Linked DNA regions of Homo sapiens: region 1 is linked to region 2. Evidence: promoter capture Hi-C in 16 types of primary human blood cells and fetal thymus (Javierre and others, 2016). All regions are on one chromosome and are shown on one strand. Each heading gives the region's core, a stretch centred on a gene start or on the middle of the fragment in contact. The rest is flanking DNA. Distances are from core to core; before and after follow the strand shown.

Region 1 (3,258 bases), core at 477-2,976, 280 kb after region 2:
TATATAATTTTATTTTTAGTTTTTTCGAGACAGGATCTTGCTCTGTTGCCCAGGCTGGAGTGCAGTGGTGCGATCATAGCTCACTGCAGCTTCCACCTCCCGGGCTCAAGCTATCCTCCTGCCTCAGCCTCCCGAGTAGCTGGGACTACAGGTGTGCAGCACTGCGCCCGTATAATTTTTGTATTTTTAGTACAGCAGAGGTTTTCGCCGTGTTGCCCAGGCTGGTCTCCAACTCCTGGGCTCAAGCGATCTACCTGCCTCAGCCTCCCAAGGTGCTGGAATTACAGGCGTGAGCCACTGCATCCGGACTAGAATATATTTGTTTAAGTGGGTGGATTAAGCCTCTTTTGATAATTGTTGAAGCTGGGTCATTGGTTACAAGGTGATAACTATGCAATTCTCTGTCCGTTTGTCTATGCTTGAAAAGTGTGTAATGAAGAATGTCAGGTGGCACAGTGATCTCCAGGAGGGGCAGAGAACCAGCATCAGGGGCTACACAGCTAGTGGTGGTACCCCAACGCCAACCCCACACATAGCCCAATCTCACAATGACTAAGTACAGAGACTGTAGTTGATGCTACAAGGATTACTGTGGCTGGAGACCAGATGTGCAACCACCTATAAACTTCCTGAGTGTAGCTTCAGTTTTGACATAAACTGTTCTTATTTTCATGAATCTCTGTGACATGGATGTAGCTGCCTCCAACTCCTGTCCCTAGTGTTTTCGAGCCCAAGGGCCTGTTTCTCCTTATCATTGGCTTTTTTCTTTTTCTTTTTCTTTTTTTTTTTTTTTTTGAGACGGAGTTTCACTCTTCTTGCCCAGGCTGGAGTGCAATGGCACGATCTCGGATCACCACAACCTCCATCTCCCAGGTTCAACCAATTCTCCTTCCTCAGCCTCCTTAGTATCTGGGATTATAGGTATATGCCACCATGCCCGGCTAATTTTGTATTTTTAGTAGAGATGGGGTTTCTCCATGTTGGCCAGGCTGGTCTCAAACTCCCGACCTCAGGTGATCCGCCCGCCTCAGCCTCCCAAAGTGCTGGGATTACAAGTGTGAGCCACTGTGCCCGGCCACCACCACTGGCTTTTGATCCAAATTGTGAATGGCAGAACCTGAGCCTTGTGCAGCCTGGCTGCAGGGCAGGCTGGGAAAGTAACTGTCAATTATAACTTCTATGGAAAGGCAGGCTTAGCCTTAAAAAATATGACATTCTCTCAATGCAGGGGTGTATGAGCGGGGTCAGGTGTTAGGTGGCCAAGAAAAGAAGGGGCTATACTAGCTTCAGAACAGCAAATCCAGGCAACCCTTAATCCAATCAGCCATTCATCCAATCATGGTGATTGCATTCTAAAATGCAGAGGATTCCCTCCAACATCCCAGAAGCTTTGGATAACCAAGAATTGCAGGCAGGTCAGAGCTCCAAGATAAGGTCACCCAGAAAAGAAAGAGACTCACTTTGGATAAGATAATGAAATGCTGTTTTTGGAACCTAAACCACTGAGAGGCAACATTGGCTGCACACAGAAATTCCTTGAGGCTTAAAACAAAAAACAAAAGAAAATTGATGACTGAGTCTCATCCCCATAGATTTTTTTTTTTAAGAGATGATCGGCCAGGTGCAGTGGATCACACCTGTAACCCCAGCACTTTGGGAGACTGAGGCAGGTGGATCACCTGAGGTCAGGAGTTCGAGACCAACCTGGCCAACATTGCAAAACCCTGTCTCTACTAAAAATACAAAAAATTAGCTGGGCATGGTGGTGGGCGCCTGTAATCCCAGCTACTTTAGGAGGCTGAGGCAGGAGAATTTCTTGAACCCGGGAGGTGGAGGTTGCAGTGAGCCGAGATCGCACCATTGCACCCTAGCCTGGGCGACTCTAATTTCTGGCCTCAAGCAATCCTCCTACTTCATCGTCCCAAAGTACATAAGCTACTCACCATAGATTTTAGTTTAAGTTGTCTGGGCATAGAGATAGTTAAAAACTCCACAGGTAATTCTATGTGCAGCCAAGAGTGAAAAACAGTGGTTCTGAAACGAGTGGGCATCAGAATAACACAGAAAGCTTGGCAAGAAGCAGACTTAAACACATATTGGCCAGGCGCTGTGGCAATCCTCCTGCTTCAGTCTCCCAAGTAACTGGAATTATGGGTAATTTTTTAACTTTTTTTTTTTTTTTTTTTTTGCCATGTTGCCCAGGCTGGTCTCTAACTCGTGGGCTCATATGATCCACCCACCTTGGCCTCCCAAAGTGCTGGAATTACAGGCGTGAGCCACTGCGCCTGGTAAACATTTTGAAAAATAGAAATATTAGCTGGGCACGGTGGCTCACACCTGTATCCTAGCACTTTGGGAGGCCTAGATGGGTGGATCGCTTGAGGTCAGGAGTTTGAGACCAGCCTGGCCATCATGGTGAAACCTTATCTCTACTAAAAACAAAAATTAGCCGGACGCGGTGGCTCACACCTGTAATCCCAGCACTTTGGGAGGCCAAGGTGGGAGGATCACCTGAGGTCAGGAGTTCGAGACCAGACTGGCCAATATGGAGAAACCCTGTCGCTACTAAAAATACAAAAAAATTAGCCAGGCGTGGTGGCGTATGCCTGTAATCCCAGCTACTCAGGAGGCTGAGGCAGGAGAATCACTTGAACCCAGGAGGTGGAGGTTGTAGTGAGCCAAGATTGCACTATTGCACTCTCCAGCCTGGGCAACAAGAGCAAAACTCCGTCTCAAAAAAAAAAAAAACAAAAAACGGCCGAGTGCGGTGGCTCACGCCTGTAATCCCAGCACTTTGGGAGGCCAAGGCAGGTGGATCACCAGGTCAGGAGATCAAGACCATCCTGGCTAACATGGTGAACACCGGTCTCTACTAAAAATACAAAAAATTAGCTGGGCGTGGTGGCAGGCGCCTGTAGTCCCAGCTACTCAGGAGGCTGAGGCAGGAAAATGGCGTGGACCTGGCAGGCAGAGCTTTCAGTGAGCAGAGATTGTGCCACTGCACTCCAGCCTGGGAAGCAGAGCAAGACTCCATCTCAAAAATAAAAAAAAAATTAGCCGGGTGTGGCAGCAGGCACCTGTAATCCCGGTTGCTTGGGAGGCTGACGTAGGAGAATCGCTTGAACCTGAGAGGCGGAGGTTGCAGTGAGCTGAGACTGTGCCACTACACTCCAGCCTGGGCAACAGAGTGAGATTCTGTCTCAAAAAAAAAAAAGAAGAAAAGAAAAGAAAGAAAAGAAATAGAAAAGAAAGGATGAG
Region 2 (3,208 bases), core at 644-3,143:
TAGCCTCAGGTCCAGATCAGTTTATCCCCCAGCTCAGGCCACCGCTCCTCGTTTCCTCCTTCTTCTGCAACCCCAGCTGTGTCCTGACACCCCCACCCACCTCACATTACGCACTCCCACCCGCTTCCAGATCTCTAACCAACGTTACAGCATACCCCGCCAAGAATTTGGCCCAGCCCAGGACTCTCAAATATGATCTGGGGAGAACTCACAGCCCCTGCAAATTCCCTAGAAGCCGTTTTGAGTGTGTAATGGGGGGGGTGTTCCTGAGAGAAGTGGGGAACACAGTTTTGGCCCTTGGAATACCCGGCGGCTGCTGATGGGGGGGCCGGTTTTTGCTCGGCGTTCGCCCACGCCGGGAGCCCCCTCTGGCGGGGAGAAAAGTGGCTGTGGGGGTTGAAGACCGGCAGTCTTTTTTTTTTTTTTTTTTTTTTTTCAAATAAGGAGAAGGGCGCGGGGGGAGGGCGGTGGCAAACGGCATCGCGTGCCCTGGGGAGCCCGTGACAGGGGGCGCACGGGGGCAGGGGTCTGGTCCCCGGGTCCCGCAGCAGAGCAGTTTCGCGTTCGAGCTCTTATCGGCGTGGGGGGGGGGGGCGGTGGGACACGCGGGCGCGTGCACTCCCCCCGCCCAGCAGCCATCCTTGGGGGGGTTGAGGGGGATGGGGGCGCACTCGGATCCCGCTCGCTCTCTGCTTGCTCGCTCGGCGCGGCGCTGGGGGAGGCGGGAGCGTGAGTCACGGCGACTCCCGATTTAGGTGCCGGAAGGGGGGCTCTGCTGGCGGGGGCCGCAGGGAGGAGGCTCGCCTGTTTACTCGCCTGAAAAGGGCACGGGGGTGCGCTCCGCGGCTACCTGGGACCTTCCTCAGTTTACCTCTGGCAGAAGCGCTTTAGAAGAGGCAGCGATGTATAGAGCGGTGGGCCGGCAGCTGCGGTATCCGCCACAGGGTGTCTTCCTGGAGCCACAAGGGAACCAATGGGACACACCCCAGAAACACCCCAGAGGCCCCAGGCCGACCACACACATACACTCACGCACACGCACACACTAACATACATAGACGTCCTCCGACACTACAGTCAGACGACAGAGGCCGAATCGCGTGCACAACTCCGCAAGCACACACCGACCACAAACGCATCCAAGCGCTTGAGAACACATTCACAGTCCCCAGGCCACCTGAAAAAAGACCACGTAGGGATGCACATCCTCCAAATAGGTAGCACATGTGCGCACACATCCTTCACCCACAGACACACACAGTTATACACACAGCCAAATCCAGAGAAACGGGCAGACAACAGCAGCCAACCACGTGCGCACACACACTTCCAGCCGACACTGAAAACACAGACAACCCTCGGAAGAGGCCACGTGCGCGCACATCCCGCCCCGGGCCCGCACCATCACTATCCTCCGACGCACAGACAGGAGATCCCACACACTCTGCCGCCGCCCGCTGCAGGTACCGCGCCGGTGGCACTAGGACCACTCCTCAAAAACTGCCCCCCGCCAGGGGTAGCGGCGAGGACACGCCAACACCGGACTCCGCCCTCGCCATGATGGACCGACTGACTGACACTCTGGCAACCAGTCCGGTGTCTGCTTCCAGATCGGATTAACCGTTTAACTCCTTCGTGCCTGTGCGCGCCGCGGCCAAGCAGGGTGCTTTGAAGACAGACGAGTTCCAGCGCCCCCTCCCAGCCCGGAGCGGGGATCTGCGTGGGCGGGAAGGGCCCCCCTCCTTAGGTAGCTGCCCCCCGCTGGCCCGGACGGAGGAGGAGGGGGGCGGCGCTGACAGCCGCGGCGGGCGGGGGGCGGGGAGGGGCGGGACGGGGCGGAGGAGCCGGGGCTGGCGCCGAGCGGGCCGCGGAACGCGGAGCGCGGAGCGCGGAGAGCGCCGCCGGGCACTGAGCAGAGCTCCAGGCGCCGAAAGGAAGCTGCAGAGCCCGGCCCGGGGGCGATTGGCCCGCAGCGCCCCCGGGTCTGTCCCCGGGGCGCCATGGCCCTACCGCGGCCGGGCGCACCCGCGGGGCCCTGGGCTCGCTGGCTTGCGCGCAGCTGAGCGGGGTGTAGGTTGGAAGGGCCAGGGCCCCCTGGGGCGCAAGTGGGGGCCGGCGCCATGGAACCCCCGACCGTCCCCTCGGAAAGGAGCCTGTCTCTGTCACTGCCCGGGCCCCGGGAGGGCCAGGCCACCCTGAAGCCTCCCCCGCAGCACCTGTGGCGGCAGCCTCGGACCCCCATCCGTATCCAGCAGCGCGGCTACTCCGACAGCGCGGAGCGCGCCGAGCGGGAGCGGCAGCCGCACCGGCCCATAGAGCGCGCCGATGCCATGGACACCAGCGACCGGCCCGGCCTGCGCACGACCCGCATGTCCTGGCCCTCGTCCTTCCATGGCACTGGCACCGGCAGCGGCGGCGCGGGCGGAGGCAGCAGCAGGCGGTAAGACTCCCCGCGGCGGATGCGCGCGGAACGGATGGGCGCGCAGGGAGGAGGCAACTCGAGCTGCCGGCCGCAGGGGGCGCTAGGATGCGGGTGGGGTCGGTTTGGCTGGCGGGGGCGGAGGGAATTCGGCTGCGGGGGCGTCTGGGACCTGGCCCCTGGTTGTGCGCTCTACGGGAGGCTTCCTGCTGAAGCCCATCCTGGGGTCCATTTAGGGGGCGCCACGCTGCGCGTGGTGTTAACGAGGTCTGGGTTGGGGAAGGGGGCTGCACACTTAGGGGTCTGTATTCTTGGTGACAGTGCAGAACAGCTGCTAAGCTGGGAACCACTTGGAGGGACCTTCCTGGGGGCACTATACTGAGGGCTAGATTCGCAGTGTTTGGGGTACTCTTGGAGCACTCCATAAGGGGGTGCCTGCTAGGACCAGGATCTTTACTTCAGGGTGGGGTGCTCTCAGGGTCCTTCTAGGGGATGGAGGACTCTATTGCGGGGATGTTAGTGGACTCCTCCTGCAGCAGCTGGGGTCAGAAATCCAGAGGGTGCCTCTTGGGGGAGCACTGTTTTGGGAGCCTTGCGTTAGATTGGAGTTCCCCTCTCAGGGCAAGAGTGTTAGCGTTAAGTAGCTGTTCAGAGGCAGGAAACAGTGGAGGGGGGGCGCAGTCCCAGCACAGAGGGAAGGAGTCCCTGACTGCAGAGGTGACAGCATAGTGAGGGTGCATGTGTGTTGAGCTTGGTCTCCTCTGAGGGTATTCTCCGATTGACCTCCGT

What was found. The method cuts DNA at HindIII sites, captures the fragments that hold promoters and counts their contacts. A CHiCAGO score of 5 or more calls a contact.
Region 1: a contact is called between a fragment that was not itself captured here and the fragment with the promoter of PDE4A in region 2, in 11 of 17 cell types (total B cells, erythroblasts, M0 macrophages and 8 more). The highest score is 7.5, in total B cells.

The regions. Positions count from the first base shown.
Region 1 is chr19:10,696,451-10,699,708 of GRCh38, forward strand. No RefSeq gene overlaps it. Among named protein-coding and RNA genes, the nearest start is that of QTRT1, 3.4 kb to the right of the region's middle. The HindIII fragment of the contact is 680 bases long and covers 1,387-2,066 here.
Region 2 is chr19:10,418,645-10,421,852 of GRCh38, forward strand. It overlaps PDE4A (phosphodiesterase 4A), which reads left to right and starts at 1,894. Exons shown (of 15, transcript NM_001111307.2): 1 at 1,894-2,440. The coding sequence starts at 2,121. RefSeq lists enhancers at 687-1,566, 2,747-2,936 and silencers at 1,787-2,256, 2,487-2,536. The HindIII fragment of the contact is 23,098 bases long and covers 1-3,208 here.